Linked DNA regions of Homo sapiens: regions 2, 3, 4, 5 and 6 are each linked to region 1. Evidence: promoter capture Hi-C in 16 types of primary human blood cells and fetal thymus (Javierre and others, 2016). All regions are on one chromosome and are shown on one strand. The core of a region is centred on a gene start or on the middle of the fragment in contact, and the rest is flanking DNA. Distances in the headings are between cores, read along the strand shown. Region 1 holds the start of HUS1 (HUS1 checkpoint clamp component). Region 2 overlaps CDK13-DT (CDK13 divergent transcript). Region 3 holds the start of NIPSNAP2 (nipsnap homolog 2). Region 4 overlaps LANCL2 (LanC like glutathione S-transferase 2). Region 5 overlaps SEC61G (SEC61 translocon subunit gamma). Region 6 overlaps C7orf25 (chromosome 7 open reading frame 25).

The links. The method cuts DNA at HindIII sites, captures the fragments that hold promoters and counts their contacts. A CHiCAGO score of 5 or more calls a contact.
Region 2: a contact is called between a fragment that was not itself captured here and the fragment with the promoter of HUS1 in region 1, in 5 of 17 cell types (total CD4 T cells, activated CD4 T cells, non-activated CD4 T cells and 2 more). The highest score is 17.5, in total CD4 T cells.
Region 3: a fragment that was not itself captured here is called in contact with the fragment with the promoter of HUS1 in region 1 in 4 of 17 cell types (total CD4 T cells, total CD8 T cells, activated CD4 T cells and 1 more); the score reaches 10.5 in total CD4 T cells.
Region 4: a contact is called between a fragment that was not itself captured here and the fragment with the promoter of HUS1 in region 1, in 2 of 17 cell types (total CD4 T cells and non-activated CD4 T cells). The highest score is 10.6, in total CD4 T cells.
Region 5: a contact is called between a fragment that was not itself captured here and the fragment with the promoter of HUS1 in region 1, in 3 of 17 cell types (naive CD8 T cells, fetal thymus and total CD4 T cells). The highest score is 11.0, in naive CD8 T cells.
Region 6: a contact is called between a fragment that was not itself captured here and the fragment with the promoter of HUS1 in region 1, in 7 of 17 cell types (fetal thymus, non-activated CD4 T cells, activated CD4 T cells and 4 more). The highest score is 17.0, in fetal thymus.

The regions. Positions count from the first base shown.
Region 1 is chr7:47,978,017-47,981,090 of GRCh38, reverse strand. HUS1 (HUS1 checkpoint clamp component) reads left to right here and starts at 1,476. Exons shown (of 8, transcript NM_004507.4): 1 at 1,476-1,623; 2 at 2,275-2,402; 3 at 2,498-2,674. The coding sequence starts at 1,572. RefSeq lists an enhancer at 1,406-1,695 and silencers at 1,766-1,825, 1,906-1,955. The HindIII fragment of the contact is 1,329 bases long and covers 971-2,299 here.
Region 2 is chr7:39,946,295-39,949,368 of GRCh38, reverse strand. CDK13-DT (CDK13 divergent transcript) reads left to right here. Exons shown (of 1, transcript NR_158201.1): 1 at 1-1,848. Among named protein-coding and RNA genes, the nearest start is that of CDK13-DT, 1.6 kb to the left of the region's middle. RefSeq lists enhancers at 1-45, 506-555, 1-664, 686-875, 2,325-2,619 and 1 more. The HindIII fragment of the contact is 2,093 bases long and covers 456-2,548 here.
Region 3 is chr7:55,963,050-55,966,123 of GRCh38, reverse strand. NIPSNAP2 (nipsnap homolog 2) reads right to left here and starts at 1,539. Exons shown (of 10, transcript NM_001483.3): 1 at 1,423-1,539. The coding sequence starts at 1,514. RefSeq lists enhancers at 497-1,230, 1,800-1,879 and silencers at 1,000-1,479, 1,540-1,649. The HindIII fragment of the contact is 4,881 bases long and covers 1-3,074 here.
Region 4 is chr7:55,372,789-55,375,862 of GRCh38, reverse strand. The region is part of intron 1 of LANCL2 (LanC like glutathione S-transferase 2); the gene reads right to left. Among named protein-coding and RNA genes, the nearest start is that of LANCL2, 9.0 kb to the right of the region's middle. The HindIII fragment of the contact is 3,931 bases long and covers 1-3,074 here.
Region 5 is chr7:54,753,242-54,756,315 of GRCh38, reverse strand. It overlaps SEC61G (SEC61 translocon subunit gamma), which reads left to right. Exons shown (of 4, transcript NM_014302.4): 3 at 435-537. Among named protein-coding and RNA genes, the nearest start is that of SEC61G, 4.4 kb to the left of the region's middle. The HindIII fragment of the contact is 3,976 bases long and covers 1-3,074 here.
Region 6 is chr7:42,907,198-42,910,271 of GRCh38, reverse strand. It overlaps C7orf25 (chromosome 7 open reading frame 25), which reads left to right. Exons shown (of 2, transcript NM_001099858.2): 2 at 1-999. The coding sequence ends at 637. Among named protein-coding and RNA genes, the nearest start is that of C7orf25, 3.3 kb to the left of the region's middle. The HindIII fragment of the contact is 1,035 bases long and covers 885-1,919 here.

The DNA.
Region 1 (3,074 bases), core at 227-2,726:
CAACTCATCATTTACATTAGGTATTTCTCCTAACGCTATCCCTCCCCCAGGCCTCCACCCCCCAACAGGCCCCAGTGTGTGATATTCCCCTCCCTGTGTCCATGTGTTCTCATTGTTCAACTCCCACTTATGAGTGAGAACATGCGGTGTTTGGTTTTCTGTCCTTGTGATATTTTGCTGAGAATGATGGTTTCCAGCTTCATCCATGTCCCTGCAAAGGACATGAACTCATCCTTTTTTATGGCTGCATAGTATTCCATGGTGTATATGTGCCACATTTTCCTTATCCAGTCTATTATTGATGGACATTTGGGATGGTTCCAAGTCTTTGCTATTGTGAATAGTGCCACAATAAACATATGTGTGCATGTGTCTTTGAAAATTATCTGGGCCTGGCGCGGTGGCTCACGCCTATAATCCCAGCACTTTGGGAGGCCGAGGTGGGCAGATCACCTGAGGTCAGGAGTTCGAGACCAGCCTGGCCAACATGGCGAAACCCCGTCTCTACTAATAATACAAAAATTAGCCGGGCATGGTAGCTTGTGCCTGTAATCCCAACTACTTGGGAAGCTGAGGCAGGAGAATCCCTCGAACCCGGGAGGTGGAGGTTGCAGTGGGCCAAGATCACGCCATTGCACTCCAGCCAGGGCGACAGAGCCAGACTCCGTCTCAAAATCATCATCATCATCATCTGCATTATCATTATCTTGATTCTATGTGTCAAGTTAAAGACAAGGTTCTAGTCTATTTGCAAAGGACATTAAAAATAACAATTGTTAACACAGATAATCTTTAGTCTTTGAAAAACCAAATTAGATACAATTGTTGCTTCATTTCCCCCTTTAAAATTTTTCCTTTAAAAAAAATCCTAATGACATTATTTATGCTAATAAGAATTTTATCGGATGTAATAAAGTTCGTCTTGAGGCAAACTGCAGAATTATCACTTAACGTCAGTGTTCTTTAAGCTTCCCGACTTTACCAACTAGCCAGTAATATGTTCAATTTTTTTAGAAGTCATTTGAAACAATTTTCAGAACCTTAATCCACCAAGATGCTTCAATACCAAAGTACCAGTACCGTCATCTGAGGCTGGAGGGTTTAAAGCTGCTCTACCTTAGGTATATTTAAGATAATATTGTTTAACCTTTATAAACGATTAATTTTATTTGGATATTTTAAAATAACACTTGAAATAGGTGTCACAAAATTCTTTCAAAACGTGAATTCTCAGAACAACCTCCCCGAATCTGGGGCTTGAAGCCTCCGCCTCACTAAAAGTAGATCCCACCATTACCCGGCAGCGCGGAGGCATACCCGGAGACTGGGACCCCCACCTCCCCCGGGGCGTGACCTGTGATCCTTGACCCGTGACCCCACCTCCTCTAGGGCGTGACCCCCTAGCCCCACCTCCTCCGGGGCGTGGCCCGGAGATAACCCTGGTAAGAGTCGCGTAGCCCGAGCCGGGCGGAACCACTGTTCGCGCTGCCGTGTTTCCGGGCGGGGACACTCAGGGCGCGACGCTTTTCTGTTACCCACAGAGGCCCGCCGCGGCTGCGCCATCCGCGGCCATGAAGTTTCGGGCCAAGATCGTGGACGGGGCCTGTCTGAACCACTTCACACGTGAGCAGGGAGGCCGGAGAGGAGCGAGGGAGGAACGGAAGGAAGCAGTGAGCGCGCGGTGGGGACCGCGCAGGAGGATCAGAACGGGGATGGGCGCCGGAAGGGGCCGCGGGAGGATGGGGCCGGGATGGGGGTGCTGGTGTAGGCCGCGGGAGGGTGGGGCCGGGAGGGCGCGGGGCGGGTCGGAGGGCACTTGTGGGGATGAAGGCGGCTTTCAAGGGACGTTTCTGAAACTTGATTCCGATCACGTGGCTTTAAAAAAAAGCGGCCACTGCTCCCATAGACGGCTTTATCAGGCATTGACATACCTTCAAGGCCCCATTCGTCCCTCCACCCTGACAGTGCCTAACCTTGCATTTAACTGTGTATTGCAGTACCTAGTAGTCAATAAATCCATGTTGAATGAATGAATGACTGGTAGGTGCCTGTTTTCTTATTTGAACACTGATGATGTGTGCTGTACATCTCCCCTAGTTTGTTGGGAGAATTGCGTGACATCAGGGGTATTAAAGTACTTTCCAGTGTGATACCAACGTTAAGTGGTTATTTTTCCACCGAGAAGTTGATGAACAAGAAATTCTGCAAAATAAGTTGGTCTCTAGGATACATAATGTGCATTTTAGTAATTCCTTATTTTAACCCCTGCTTTAGGAATCAGTAACATGATAGCCAAGCTTGCCAAAACCTGCACCCTCCGCATCAGCCCTGATAAGCTTAACTTCATCCTTTGTGACAAGCTGGCTAATGGAGGAGTGAGCATGTGGTGTGAGCTGGAACAGGTGAGCAAAAGCTTCTGAGAGGCCTGCACACTCTGCAGATTGTCACTGGAAAGATCACATATACCCTCCCTCATCCCTCATTTTTTTTCCCTTAGGAGAACTTCTTCAACGAATTTCAAATGGAGGGTGTCTCTGCAGAAAACAATGAGATTTATTTAGAGCTAACATCGGAAAACTTATCTCGAGCCTTGAAGACTGCCCAGAATGCCAGGGCTTTGAAAATCAAACTGACTAATAAACACTTTCCCTGCCTCACGGTCTCCGTGGAGCTGGTGAGTAGGAGAGTCAGGGTTTCTAACACAGAAGTCTTGGCCTCGAAGGAATAGACATAGTTAGCCTAGCCTTTTTAACAATAAATACTGTTGAAAGCTGTTTGGTTTATTTAAATTTAAAGATCTGGTCCATAACTATATTTTGCATTAGAGTCAGTTCCTCCTCATTTTAAAATTGTGTTGTTATCATATGCATTCAGCTAGAATGCTGCTTTTTCCAAGCCGTGAAACTTCCAGCCTCTCTGTTTCTTGTAGTGGTATTGTCACCTTGTCTAGAAATCATGGTTTCTCTATCCATTTTCACCTTTGACATGTTTTCTCCCCACTCCCACCCTGCCTCATCTGCTATAATAACCTTTAAATGGCCCCTCGTTCTTCAGTACACGTATGTTTTATATGC
Region 2 (3,074 bases), core at 253-2,752, 8.0 Mb after region 1:
GCTTGCGTCCAGCGCGCAGTGCCGGTTCCGGCTCTGCAGACGCCGCACTGCCTGCCTGTTGAGCGAAAGGTCACAGTGAGAACAAGTGTTTCTGGAGACTGCGAGGGAAATAATGCTGTTGGTGGCCTTCTGGAGTAGGCAGTTACCCCCCGTGTACCTTCAGTCAAGCCCTGGGAGTGGAACAGCTGCGAAAGGAGAGAAAACACCCCGCAAAACAGGGTGGAGATGGCGTTGGTTTAACTTGTCTCACGTACGCCAAAGTTCGAGGCCCCATTTTTTTTTTTTTTTTTTTTGAGACTGAGTTTCGCTCTCGTTGCCCAGGCTGGAGTGCAATGGTGCGATCTCGGCTCACCGCAACTTCCGCGAGGCCCCTTCTTATCCTAAAAAACACACTTGGGAATCACAGCTCAAGCTTCGGTAACACTATTTACTTTAAAATAAAAATTTTTAAAGCTTTAAATCAATACAGGAAATAAGTGGAATGTTAAAAGGAACTACTGAAAATTCCAAATTCTCAGGAGGCTTGAAATAAAAACATCTTGTGCGAATGAGGACTGCCCTCTTAGTACTTCACCCACTTTCACCTTCATATCTAAACCTTTGGGGTTGCCAAACATAGCCATATAGTGACCTCACATCTCATTTCTTGCCTTAGAATTGCCCTTCAGTTACAGACTAAGCACTCGGGATAATTAGATTAAAATGTAAATGGCTTATTGGCTTTTAGAATGGTTGGAAACGCAAGCTAACCCTGTGCAGTGGCACACGCCTGTAGTCCCAGCTACTCCGGAGGCTGAGGCAGGAGGATCTCTGGAGCTCAAGAGTTCGAGGCTGGAGTGAGCCATGACCGTGCCACAGCACCCCAGCCTGGCCAATCAGCAGGGCGAGGCCCTGCCTCTAATAAAAGAAAAAGCTAAGCCGTCTGTTCAATGACTAAATGTAGTAACCCCTTTGAAAATTCATTTGTTCAGATCATCAGTTGGTTTAGTTCTTAAACACTTGGTATCTATCCATCGTTAATACCTTAGTGTAAATTATTTTAATCAGTTTGACATCACAGTATCACAGACTGGCCTGATTTAAGCTAAGATCAGACTTCACTGACCGAGTACAAAGGATGTTGGTTTGCTGAAGGATAAAGGAGGAGGCAAAGGAATAGGTAATCTTAAAGTCAGAGCATTTCCCAGGAGGGCAGGCCTGGGTGGGCAACACCATGGGATGGGCATTGGGAAACTGAATAGAAAAATAGGGGGCAGGGTTCCTAAAACAAATTTCTGGTTGACAGTATTGTTGAGTGAAGGTCCTGTAGCCAGCCTCCTACCAAAGACTGTTTAGCAAGTGGCTTTTTCAGAAACATGTAGGATCAACTTGTTCCATCGTCCTACGTTAGATAGACTGGAATAACAGAACAAAGAGAGCAAATAAGAGGTTTAGCTTGCAGCTCCCCTCGTGTACAACCAGTTCCACTTGAGAATGTCATCTTCTATCATATATTTTCAAAGAAAACTTGATCCATAGTAAATGGATAATTCCCATGTGTAAGTGTATTAAATGGAGAAGAAGGGAAAAAAAGTAAATGGATAGTTCCCAATCCAGGGTGCAAACAAAAAACATGTACTAAAATATTTTTACTGTGGTTCTACCACCCACGTTTCCTCAAAGATTCTACCTTTGGTGGGGGAGGTTGAATGAACATTTTGAGCTCAAGATACCTGCCCACGTGGTTGGAAACACTAATAACTAATAGGATTCAAACTCCAAAAAATGGGAAGGACCTTTGAATTAGAAGCCGTCTGTTTCTATAAGCCTGTCTGCTTGCCTGAATATTAAAGAGATTTGAAATTCCCATTTACGACTATATTTTTGTTTATTACTGCTTGTGTGTGGGGGGGTGGGGAGTTCGTGTTTTGTTTTGTTTTTGTTTTTGTTTTTTTTGAGACAGAGTTTTGCTCTTGTCGCCTAGGCTGGAGTGCAGGGGTGCAATCTTGGCTTACTGCAACCTCCGCCCCCCAGGTTCAAGCGATTCTCCTGCCTCAGCCTCCCGTGTAGCTGGGATTACAGTTGCCCGCCACCATGCCGAGCTAATTTTTTTGTATTTTTAGTAGAAACGGGGTTTTGTCATGTTGAGCAGGCTGGTCTCAAACTCCTGACCTCAGGTGATCCGCCCGCCTCGGCCTCCCAAAGTGCTGGGATGACAGGCGTGAGCCACTGCACCAGGCCCCAGACTCATCTTTTATGCAGTTCAGAGGCCCACAGTGTTAGCACTTTTTTTTCAGAAGTGCAATATTGCTTCTATGTGCTGGGGAGTGGGAATTCTTGCTGGTTCAGTAAAGCTGAGGGATACGTATTTATAAAACAGTAATGGTGGAGTAAACTTCTAGCTGTCTTCCTAAATGGATTTTCCCTTGATTACCTAAGTAACAGTATCCTGGGTTTGATGGGGGTAAATGTGCCTAGCTAAAAACTACATCTCCCAGTATTCCTTGCAGATAAGACGTGATCATTGGCTCCTGCCAATGAAGTGAAGTGGAAGTTGTTGGGCGAAGCTTATGGAAATGATTCTTAAAAAATGGAAGGTCAGGGCCGGGCCCGGTGGCTCACGCCTATAATTCCAGCACTTTGGGAGGTCGAGGCGGGCAGATCACCTGAAGTCGGGAGTTCAAGACCAGCCATGACCAACATGGAGAAACCCCGTCTCTACTAAAAATGCAAAATTAGCCCAGTGTGGTGGCGCATGCCTGTAATCCCAGCTACTCGGGAGGCTGAGGCAGGAGAATCGCTTGAACCCGGGAGGCAGAGGTTGCAGAGGCTGCGGTGAGCCCAGAGTGCACCATTGCACTCCACCCTGGGCAACGAGAGCGAAACTCCATCTCAAAAAAAAAAAGGAAGGTCAGTTTCGCTGACCTGTACCTTCTGCCCCTCACTCTTACTTCTTACTTTTCTCTACATCTGGAACTCAAATGCAATACTGGAGTTTGAGCAGCTGTCCCATGACAACAAAGGAATAAGCACAGGCTAAGGATGGTGAAGTGAAAGGAAAATAGAAAGACGTGACTCCTCGGGGGCATTATGGA
Region 3 (3,074 bases), core at 209-2,708, 8.0 Mb before region 1:
AACTGCTCTGAATTCTTCTTCCCCAGCCCTCCTGAATTACTGGTAAGCTCCGGATGGCCTTGGACGCCTTATTCACTGATGTCTCTCAACAGTCAACAGTGCCTGGCACGTGGTAGGCACTCACATTTTGGCAGAACAGCTCTCTGCAAACTCTCAACTCTCAGTGCCAGGGTCCACTCAGCTGGCCACTACCCTTAATTCTGCCCCCTCTCCCAAGTCAGACTCATCTTTTTAAAAAGATCAGGCCGCGCCTGGTGATTCACGACTGTAATCCCTGCACTTTGGGAGGCCGCGGCAGGTGGATCACCTGAGGTCAGGAGTTCGAGATCAGCCTGACCAACATGGTGAAACCCCGTCTCTACTAAAAATACAAAAATTAGCCGGGTGTGGTGGTGCATGCCTGTAATCCCAGCTACTTGGGAGGATGAGGCAGGAGAATTACTTGAACCCGGGAGGCGGAGGTTGCAGTGAGACAAGATCGTGCCGTTGCACTTCAGCCGGGGCAACGAGAGCAAAACTCCGTCTCAAAAATATAAATAAATAAACAACAACAATAATAATAATAATAAACCATGTTACTGAAACCTCCCTGGCCCATGGCGAGTTTAACACACAGTTCCTTAGGTAATTTAAACTACCCAAAGCAATGAATACGAGAAAGCAACTCTGGGTAAGTCAGGATAGGCTTTGCTGTTTGAATGTGGAAAACAGCACATGCAAATATCAAGGTGATGAATTTGGACAACCAAACGTCCAATCCACTGAAGTTAGAAAAAAAAAAAAGTTTAAACAAGAGCCCCACGCCTGAACTTAGTGCTGATAACTCTAAGTACTTTTAGATCCACGGCCGGCTTTAAATTTCAACTCCAAGACGTTAAGTGATTTGACCTCCTCCAAGCTCTAACTTCCCCTACGCTCCGCGGAGAGCTGGCCCGGGACAATGCTTTACTCTTTTATTCCCTACTCCCGGCACCTCAGAGACCAGGGTCACCAACGTCCTCGGCAGACGCAGCCACTCAGGCTTGGAACAGCCTCCGGCGAGGACCCAGCAGACGGCGTCCGGGGCCTGCGGCCTCAGGCGCGCGCTGTCCCTGTCCCTGGCCACGGGTCGCGCCGGTCAGGGCCCTGCAGGCCGGGCCAGCGCCGCGGGGAGGATGTGGCCTCCGGGCCAAGCCTCGGGGGCCTTCCCGGGCGAGGGTGGAGCCGCAGAGCGGCCCGTCCCCTCCGTGACCTTGAGCCCGAGGACGCCCCGACCCCGCCCCAGCTCCGGCCCCACCCCAGCTCCGGCCCCACTGCCCCGAGGCCGGGCAGCCACCCGCGCTGGGGACAGGGCCGGGGCGGAGACCGGCGCCGGGAAACCCGCGCCCTCCGCCTCGCGGCGGCCCCTCCCCGGCACCTCCCGGGAAGGGCGGCGCTGCTCACCGGAGCCTGGGCAGGAGGCTGCAGGGGGCCGCCCGCTGCAGGAGGCCGCCGGCCCAGGCCGCTCCGCGGGCGCGCAGCACTCGCGCCGCCATCTTGCTCGGCGCCTCGGCTCCCACCGCCCGGGCGCCGCCGCTGACGCCGCCGCCGCGCGACCCCTCCCCCGGCCGGGCCCCAACGCGGCCACTGCAGTGCGGGGCGCGGCCGCCAGGGGGAGCAGGGCGCGCGGCCGCGGGGGTCGGCGGGGCGTCCAGGCGCCAAGGCCCGGCCGCTGCGGGAAAGCGCGAAGCCCAAGCGCAGTCAGTGCAAGCCGATCACTTCAGCGGGAGGAGCTCGGTGCCCAGAAGCGCGGGTGCAGAAGGGACAAGGGCATAACTTCAATGATCAGGGAAAACTCCAAAAGGAAAGAGTAACACTGTGCCTAGGGGAATCCAGGGCCTGGGGCGGGGCAGTGGCAGTGGGTTTACCCCCACCCCACCCCGCCAATGTCTTTTAAATTTTGTAGTATATGAATATATTGTCATTTCAAAAAGCCCCACAACGCTTTAACAAGTGCATTCTGGGGCCGGACGCAATAGCTCACGCCTGTCATCCCAGCACTTTGGGAGGCTGAGGCCGGAGATCTCTTGAGGCCAGGAGTTCGAGACCAACCTGGGCAACATAGCGAGCCCTCACTGTGCAAAAACATTTTTAAATTAGCCGGGCATGGAGGAGCACGTCTGTGATGCCAGCTACACTGGAGACTGAGGCAGAAGGATCGCTTGAGTTCAGGAGGTGGAGGCTGTAGTGAACTATGATCGTGCCACTGCACTCCAGCCTGGGCAAACACACGACGTCCTGTAGCGAAAGAAAGAAAGAGAGAAAGAGAGAGAAAGAAAGGGAGGGAAAGGAAGGAAGGAAGGAGAAAGAAAGGAGGAAGGAAGGGAGGCAGGAGAAAGAAAGGAGGGAAGGAAGGAGAAAGAAAGGAAGGGAGGGAGGCAGGAGAAAGAAAGAAAGAGAGAAAGGAAAAGAAAAGAAAGCAAGTGAGGAAAAAATTAAAAAACACCATACACACACAAAAAAAATTAAGGAGAAAGGACTGGGAAGGTTCTCTTGAGGTCTTGGGACTGCATCGTTCCCATTCATTTCAGCACCGGTGGGCACTGGCCATGGGGAGTCCTTGGTACCTTACCCTCAAGGCCGTCTGGGTCTAGTGGGGACAGAATGTACAATGATGATTGGACCGAGTGTGTTAAGTGTCAAAATGGACAGGTTCATGAGACACGAAAGAGGCACGGAAAGAGAGCATGTAACCGGGGGTGGCTGTGAATTAGAGGATAGATGGGGAGAAAGTTCTCCAAGGAGCTGGCAGGACATATCAGTCCCAGGGGAAGAAGGGAGGGCATCCCTGTCTTGAGGAAATAACTTAAGCAAAGGCGTGGATCTGGGTGGCTGGCGCTATAGAGGGAAAAATGTGTCCTCCAGGAAGATTTTTTAAAAAGCCACAAATGAGCCAGGCACGGTGGCTCACGTCTGTAATCCCAGCACTTCGGGTGGCCGAGGCGGGCGGATCACCTGAGGTCAGGAGTCCGAGACCAGCCTGGCCAATATGGTGAAATCCCATCTCTACAAAAATACAAAAATTAGGCAGGCATGTTGTCGGGTGCCTGTAATCC
Region 4 (3,074 bases), core at 154-2,653, 7.4 Mb before region 1:
CTAAGGCCAGCCAGCAGGGAAGTGGGGAACACTCCAGCAGCCACAGTGAACTGGATTTGGCCAACAGCTTCAATGAGCTGGGAAACAGATTCACCCTCAGGGCCTCCAGGAGAGAAGGCAGCCTTGAAGATGCTTTGACTTTGGCCTTATGAAATTCTAAGCAGAGGAGCCAGCAGAGCCAGACTGTACCTGGACTTCTGACTTCATTTTAAAGATGATAAATAAATAGGTGCTGCTTTAAACTGCAAAATTGGTGGTATTTATGGCAACAACGGAAAAATACAACTTTCTTAGCTAATCCTTCAAGTGGCTTTGGAATGGCCAAGCAACAGAGTCTGCCTGGGCAACTCTGAGGAAGACCCTGGAGGAAGAAGCCTCTCACAGGCGTCTCAGAGAAAGACAGGAGCTCGCTGTGTGAAAAGCAGGGGGGCATTCTGTGCTGAAGGACAGAGATGGTATTTAAAATGCATTTAGGAGAATGCCATGGGCATTCCTGAGGAAACAAGTCATTCCATCTGAAAACTACGGAATATGCAATCATTCTCTTTCTAAAATACTTGTGTTCTTCTGTATTTTTTATGATAAATTTAGTGCTAGTTTGAGGAAATACAACTGCTATACATAAAAATACAGAAAACTTTAAAGATTTGACAATTAACTTGTAAAAAATTATGATGATCTTAACTACAAATAGAGGAGAGTGAAAAGTCTAAAAACAAGTGTTCAACATGCACATAATAAATAGCTCCTAAGAAGAAAAAGGTACGTTTTGAATAGTTATGCATAAATTGAACATTTAGGTATGAATAATACTTGAAATGCATCAGGAGAGCTTAATAAAATCATCTACTACACTCCTAATAAATGGGGTATTTGAGACACTTAATCTAACTTAATCCTCTTGATAATCCTAAAGCAGCATTATCATCATGGTACACATGCAGAAACTGAAGCTAAGAGAAAATAACTTGCCTACATTTTAAAGATGATAAAAATAGCTTTTTGACTCACATTTTACATATGTGATGATGTGCAAACTTTGCAAACTGTATACCATAAAGTAATTCTTTTCTTAGGAAAGATTTTAACAAACCCTTCTGCTGAGGGGTATGGGTTGGGGAAGTGCATTTCCTAATTCAGCTCTCCTAGGCTAATTCACTTGTAATGTTAGACACATGAAGATGTGATGTGATGTTACATACCTAGCAAGAGTGTGGGCTTGCTTTGTTCCATTTTGCAAACAAAATGAATAAAACAAAAGTCCCCCAATCCTTACCTCAAAGCTAATTACTACATGGGAAAAGCAGGCAGGGGTGGGGAAGCTATATCTTCTGACAGTAAAGAATTAGATGGTAGTGAAAACATCTACCTTCACTAGTGGTATTTTCAATAAACAGGTCCTTACCTAAACTGACTCTATCAAGATAACGCTATTTTGCAGAGGTGTTTGAAAATAGTTCATTCTGCTAAAAATAGTCATAGATTTACATAATCTGGTCTGCTTCTGTTTTCTTATTTCAAACTCAGTAATATAACAGAAAATATTCTAGATTACATATCCTAAGCACACACACCTCAATCCAATTTTGATGTGTATCATAAAAATTCATCTGCTATGTATGCTTCGTAGGGGATATATGGCATAACCACAAGGAAGTTTACAATTGCAATAAAGAACCAAGGACAAACTGTTAAGTGACAATGTATTAATAAACTGCAAACAAGGGCTCAAAACATATGTAATTACAGTTCAAGAGACAAGGAACCCATGGAGATAGCAGGATTTTGTGGTCAAATTATCTTTAATTATGGAAAGCTCTCAGTGAAAAGTTAGGTTTCATTTTGATTAAACAATTGCTGCATGGTACTAACTAAAATCTATAAAAGACAGGAACATTTTCTGAAAAAGAAACTCGGTTTGTTATATGCAATTCTATTCAAGCAAAATTTGCTCAAAACCTAGTCTGGCCCTAGCCAACTGCTAGTTGTCCTTACAAAGCACACTCCTCACCCAGAACTCCCAAAGCATATTACATAGTTCTTGACTTACAGTAGCCTGGAATGTCATCTAAGAGTCCAAGATGTAACATTCTAGATACAGAATAGCTTTTAAAATACAAAATTGTATCATTAAATAAAATGCAAAAAATGCCTCTCATAAAAAAATTTTTTTAATTTCCATAGATTTATTCAGTCAACAAACATTTACTACCTACTGCGTTCTTATTTCAGTATCAAGCAGTGAGGATGTTTAAAAATAACTCCCTGGGTGCAATGGCTTGCACCTGTAATCCCAACACTTTGGGAAGCTGAGGCAGGACAGGAGAATTGCTTGGGCCCAGGAATTCAGGACTAGCCTGGGCAACATGGCAGGACCCCATCTCCACACACAAAAAATTTAAAAATTAGCTGGGTGTGGTGGAGTACACCTGCAGTCCCAGCTACTTGGGAGGCTGAGGTGGGAGGATCTCTTGAGCCTGGGAGGTCAAGGCTGCAGTGAGCTATGATTGTGCCAGTGTGGTCCAGTCTGGGAAACAGAATGAGACCCTGTCTCAAATAAATAAATAAATAAATAAATAAATAAATATTTAAAAAATTAAAAAATAATAACTCAAGTATGTTCAAGAAAAAATTCCTGTTCTCAGAAAGCAGTAAAGTTAAGTGGGAAAAAGAAATAGAAATGAATTATAGTAAGCCCTTGGTAATCATGAATTAAGTGTTCAGAGCTCCTGTTTGAAGTTTCAAGCATAAACTTACGAATCTGGAGACCCAGGCTATGATAGATGACAATTTTCAATCTTGCTGAGGCCCAAAGGTGCACAGCATGAGCTGGTAGGTTCTACTGTGGGTAGAATTCCCAACCTCCATATTTCCAAGTGGTTTGGTTATTCCTTATCATCTCACCACCATCAACAGGAGTTCCATGCCCTTTCAGAGATGATGAGAGGAAGAATGTATGTGTATGGAATTCAGAAATCTGGAAACTATTGGCAATCTGAGGATATAGCCATATAAATATTGTACATCTAACCATATTTTCCTTAGGAAAAAAAGGAGACAATAAGCATTTCTTT
Region 5 (3,074 bases), core at 336-2,835, 6.8 Mb before region 1:
CATCGTTTATAATGTACCCAAAAAAGGTATGTTTCTGCCCATATAATTGATATGTTATGATAAAAATTACAATGTTACATTTTAAAACTTAAGAAAAATAATGTATATTTCTTTCATCCATGACCTTTTTTTGTTTTTGGTATTTTCTGGTCATTTGCTAAGAAGAAAAAATATTTTTAGTACTTGCTGATGAACTCACTAGGACAGATATGCATTATTATTTGTTTCCTTAAATATCAACAAAACATGGAAATTTTAAAACCTGTCAAACAACTTGTTTACTGTTAATAGTCTCACCTTTTTATTTTTAAATTATATATCTATTAACAGGAGAAATGTATACTAGTTAAGTTCATTTATGTTGCTGATAGTTTTTTTCCCATACTTTCAGTGACAGTGCAAAAAATATGTGAATTTCCTGTTTTTAAATGCAGAATTCCAGAAGATTGCCATGGCAACAGCAATAGGATTTGCTATAATGGGATTCATTGGCTTCTTTGTGAAATTGATCCATATTCCTATTAATAACATCATTGTGTAAGTAAACTTTATGAAATAGACTAGGATTGAATGAAACTCAAAACCATTTGAGATGACAGGCTGTTATTTCGTTAATATAGAGATGCATCTCTTGACTTTTTAGTGCTGTTGGAGTCTACTGATATTTACGAGTACCTGATAATTGAGGGCTTTTAGATCTTACATGATCTGTCCAGAAATTCTGTGTGCTAGGCACTATTTTCTTTAATAAATAAAATTTTACAGAGTCAAGAAAGTATTAAAGACACTCATATGTCACAAAGCCAGCATTGAAACCTAAGTCCTCTTTGTGCTGTTACCTTGTTAATTTCTAATGTGCAGAGCAAATGCTTCCCATCCAAAAATCACTGCTGTGATAGAATTCTAACTCTGGACCAGATTGCCTAGATCCAAAACCTTTTTCTTGTTATGCAGTAGCTGTCCTAGCTTCAGGCAATTTGCCTAACCTCTCTGTGCCCAGTTTATTCAGTGGGGATAATAGTTCTTACTTGGATTATGACTTTAAGTCATGTAAGGCCCCAGAAACAATTTGGGTAAGAATACAAGTGAAAGTTGTTACTATAATGAGCCATTGATACTGATAGGAGAATATCATAACTTTTAAGTATGTTAGGAGGCAAAAAAGGCTGAGAAACACTGGGATCACTTTATTTGTTTCCAAATAATTTTGCTTTTTAAATTCATTACAAGTCATTGGGACACCTTGTGGCATTGAGCAATTAGAGCAATTAGGTAATTCAGTTTAGGGTAAGGACTTAGTATGAGTTTCAGTACTTACTTTGTGATTTTGTATGCATTTAATCTCAGCCTCATCCACTGTTTGGAGGTAATAAAATCTATTATTACCTGATAATAATATCAGGTGTATCAGTGCTTGTATCCATTAAAAGCACTGAATAAGTGTTAGTTGAATTAAGTGAACAACTTCAGGTTCTTTGCCTTTTCTGATGGTGATGGTGGCAATAATAATTAACATTCATTGAGAACTTCCATATGGTATTGAAATCAATCAGTAATATCAATTGATTTTATGGGGTGGTGAAGTTTGAAGCAATGATTTAAAAAATTTCTAAACTATAAATCTCCTAAATACTAGGTATTTTATCCCAGGTACTGGTACAGGTTGCCTTTTAAATGACAAGTAACAATGTATATTGTCAGAGGGATTTCTGAAGTAGGTTACCATAGTTATTAAGGCAGAAGTGCCACAAAGTGATATTCAGGATCATAAATAGTTAGAACTAGATGGGCCCAAGTCACTGATATCTCATTTGTCAGTTCAGAAATCCCTTGTATTTTACCAGTGAGAAATGCCAACTGTAGAACTGTGGAATCACGGGGAGAATACTGAAGTAGAATGAGGAAATCAGTAAAAAGAAGTGGCAGAGTCTCTGTCAAGTCCCTTCTTTTTCATACTCGGTGCCTCTGCTCTTTCTGCTTCCCATTCTGTCATGAGACAGATTTATTGATAGGAAGTGTTTCTTTAAAATGATAACAAAATTAGTTTCCTGTGATAATCACCCTTCATTGTTCTTAGTTGTACCTTTCAGAAGAACACGTAAGCCCACCTTTTCCAATTTTTTGGTATACAAGCACCTTTCAAATTTTTTCCCCGGCCTTCACTTAACCTATATTTTTGTCCCTTTTGCCAGACATCATTGTCTGCCTTGGGTCATACTCAGGTCCGTCTTTTCATATTAGATTATGAGTTGTGAGGCAGGCCTGCCTTGTTATTTATATTGTATGTCTCTCCTATAGAGTCTGGTCCAGAGCCCCCTTGTATCCGTTAAAAGCACTGAATAAGTGTTTGTTGAATTAAGTGAACAACTTCAGGTTCTTGTCTTTTTAATGGTGATGGTGGCAATAATAATAGTTAACATTCATTGAGAACTTTCCATGACTGTGTGTCAACTCATTTAATCTTCATGAGGAAACAGGCATGGGGAGGCTAAGTAATCTACTCAGATTGCATGGCTAGTGATAGAGCAACACGGGAAATCTTTCAGAAGCTAGTTACTTAGAAAACTTTTCTTCTAGTTAAAAAAAATGGTTTCAATGTTTAAGAAGTTAAAAAATCTATCTTTAGATATTTTTTACCTTAACATGAAGGCCAATTAAAACATTTTGTGAGAGACACTACAGAAAACTTACTCTTTTCTCATGTTATGCCAGGACAGCTGTAAAACTGAAAGGAATCTTGCTTTCCCTGCTTGAAAGAGGATAATCATTGTTTAAATCATTTTGAGATGGTAGCAAGGGAAATAACTCATTGGGTTGAATTATCAGTTTTTTCTTAAGATTTTTTTCTTCTTTTTTTTCTAAGTATAGCAATCAAAATTAATATTCACAGTATTAGAATTTAAAATAGGCACTTGCTGGCCTTTTAGTTATAGCAATACTATTTAATAGCATAAGCATTTAAAATGCTAAACATTAAAGTATATGCTCAGGGGTATTTTATATAATAATTTTCTCTTTTTTTTGAGATGGAGTCTTGCTCTGTTTCCCAGGCTGGAGTGCAGTGGTGCAATCTT
Region 6 (3,074 bases), core at 153-2,652, 5.1 Mb after region 1:
TGAATCAGATGATGAGGGCCCTGAACTTTTGCAGGTGACCAGAGTTGACCGAGAAAATATACTAGCAAGTGTTGCGTTTCCAACAGAAATTAAGGTCGATGTGTGCAAAAGAGTAAATCTGGACATTACTACTTTAATCACATATGTATCTGCCCTCAGCTATGGAGGCTGCCACTTTATTTTCAAAGAGAAAGTGCTCACAGAACAAGCAGAGCAAGAGAGGAAAGAGCAGGTTCTACCTCAGCTGGAGGCCTTTATGAAGGACAAGGAGTTGTTTGCTTGTGAATCTGCTGTCAAGGACTTTCAGTCTATTTTAGATACCTTAGGAGGACCTGGGGAGAGAGAGAGGGCCACTGTGTTAATTAAGCGAATTAATGTGGTACCAGACCAGCCTTCTGAGCGTGCCTTGAGACTAGTGGCCAGTTCAAAAATTAATAGCCGCTCATTAACAATTTTTGGGACGGGAGACACCCTAAAAGCCATCACAATGACTGCTAATAGTGGTTTTGTCAGAGCTGCAAACAACCAGGGTGTTAAATTTAGTGTGTTTATCCATCAGCCCAGAGCACTTACTGAGAGTAAAGAGGCTCTAGCCACCCCCTTACCAAAAGACTACACAACTGACAGTGAACACTAAAGATACCCTTTAAATATTTTTGTGGAAGTAAGTTATTTATACCAAAGGCTGGGTCTTCCCATCTAAACTGGTGGGAAAAAAGGTCTATAGTAAAAGTAAAACTGAGAACTCTTAAACCAGTAGAGTTTCTTTGTCTCTCATCTAAAGTATATAACCTCCCAAAGTAGAAAAAGCACAAGAGAGAAGCTTATCTATCAAACTGTCTGCATTAGTGCAATTAAGAACCGAAATACGTCTATATAAAGCTTTCAGCTGTATTGTAATACTTTGATTCGATAGGGCTACAACTCCCCTACTGCTAACCACATTTCATGGAATATGGCTACATTGCATCTTGCATTAAATATCTGGAGAAAATTCAAGCCTGTTTTTCATTGTATTGCTTTATATGGTTTAGGCTGGGAGGTAGTCGTTGGTAATCAATTTTAGATTCTAAGGTTAACCATTAATGAAAAACTTATTTGCTGTATGTCAGGTGCAGTCTGATAGGTGTTTTTACAAAAAGTACATAATACAGAAGAAATGAGAAAGTGAATTATGGTTATTTGAGTGCCATGAACCCATTGGTAGACCTTTGTGAAAAGAAAGCCAACAATCTTACTACTATAAGATAAAACCAGGACACTTAAGGTAAAATACTAATTTGAATGAATTGAAAAAGGATTATGTAAAAGATTTTAAAAATTCAATACAGAAAGCCCCCATATTATAAGTATTTGAACAATAAATACTATTTTCATGTTTCATTTGCAAGTGGCAAGTGACAACTGCATTACCTTACTTTCATGAGATGGTGACAGAATATTCCATGCCAATTCCATGACACAAGTTGTAGTTAAAAATACACTTCTATGGCTACATTGCGCTAGATACTTTATCAGTTTTCAATAAAGCAAAACTAGCAAAGTCGGTATGTATTCACCACATTTAAAAATTTGGAATTTGAGTCCTGGAGCTTAAATATTAACTCATGCTAAGTGTAGGAGCTGGTATTAAAACTTGATGTTTCTAGCCACAGTCTGATCTCTTTCTACCATGCCAAATGTCGTATTTGTTGAGAAGAGAATCTCAATTTACAGCCACAGTGTTTGTTGGGGTGGAATTTGGTTATTGGCATTCATGAACACCCTGAAATGAATGCAAAATTAAGTGTATGGGGGTGGTTCTCTGGGGAGAGATTGCTTTACTAAGTCAGAATACATTTTCTAGTAGAAAGGCTGTGATTTGCTTCCAGTTTAGTGTAGAGTGGTATATGTCTAGTGTTAGAAATGGAATTTAAGCTTTTTGAGCATCTATTAAGGTCATGTAGTACTTGATACTATTAAGTACCAAGCATTATAATAGTTTGGTGTGAAAAGATGAATGTTTGCTCTAAGGAATTCTTAAGTCTAAAGTGGAAGTAAACAACTGAAGTGCAATTAAATGTACTAAATTCTCTAGGATATGTTGAAAATACTATGGGGACAGAGTAAAGGAGTACTTGTTATGGGGCCAGGAAGTCAGAGAGGAAGTGTTGTTTGAGGGTTTGGGGTGTGAAATTTCACAAGATGTGTGAGAAAGGGTACTCAAAAGTACATGGAGGAATGGGATTGGAAAAGTACCAGAACTGTGACTATGAGGACCTGTTCAGGGACCAGGCTCAAGTGGACAGTTTATAAAACAAGATGGAGCTAGAAAAAAAAGTCAAAGTTCTCTAAAGAGTTTGGCATTAGAGAGCCATTGGTGATTTTTAAGAAAGTGTGGCTTATGATCAGGTCTCTTAAGGAAACCACAAAAATCTGTAGTGTGGATAAAAATTGAAAGAAAGTTTGGACTATAATGACCTTAGCTAGAGCAGGAATGATGGACTGTAGAGTCATGGATACATGTTGGATTTGTTTGAGGCAGAATTGACATATTAATGTACTCATTCGTTTAATAAGCATTGAGTGACAGCCATGTGTCAGACACAGTACAAAGGGCATGGCATATAAAAGACTTGTTTTAAAGGAGCAGAAAGAAGGTAGATTTCTATCCCTGCTCCCTATGAATCAATCAATACCTAAGAACTTGGGATCTTTGCCAACTAGAAAGTGGACAGGCCACAGCACTCTTTAGGAAACTGCTTTGTGAAGTGACCACAGCTGTGCCCTGCCAAAGACCATGATGTTTTTTCAAGCATTCCAGTGATTGCAACTCCTAACAATGTAATAAATAATGCAAGCAGTACATATGCTCAAGTAGTAGGGCACTGGATCCTGGAATGTAAGAAATAGCACCTTCCCTAGAGACCACACACATGATCTACACTGTCAAGGTCTATTCCAGCTGGCCAAAACATTCCTTTCATAAAGGTAAAATATTAGACAATAAAGGCCGGATGTGGTGGTTCACACCTGTAATCCCAAAACTTTGGGAGGCTGAGGGGCAGATCACCTGAGGTCAGGAGTTCAATACC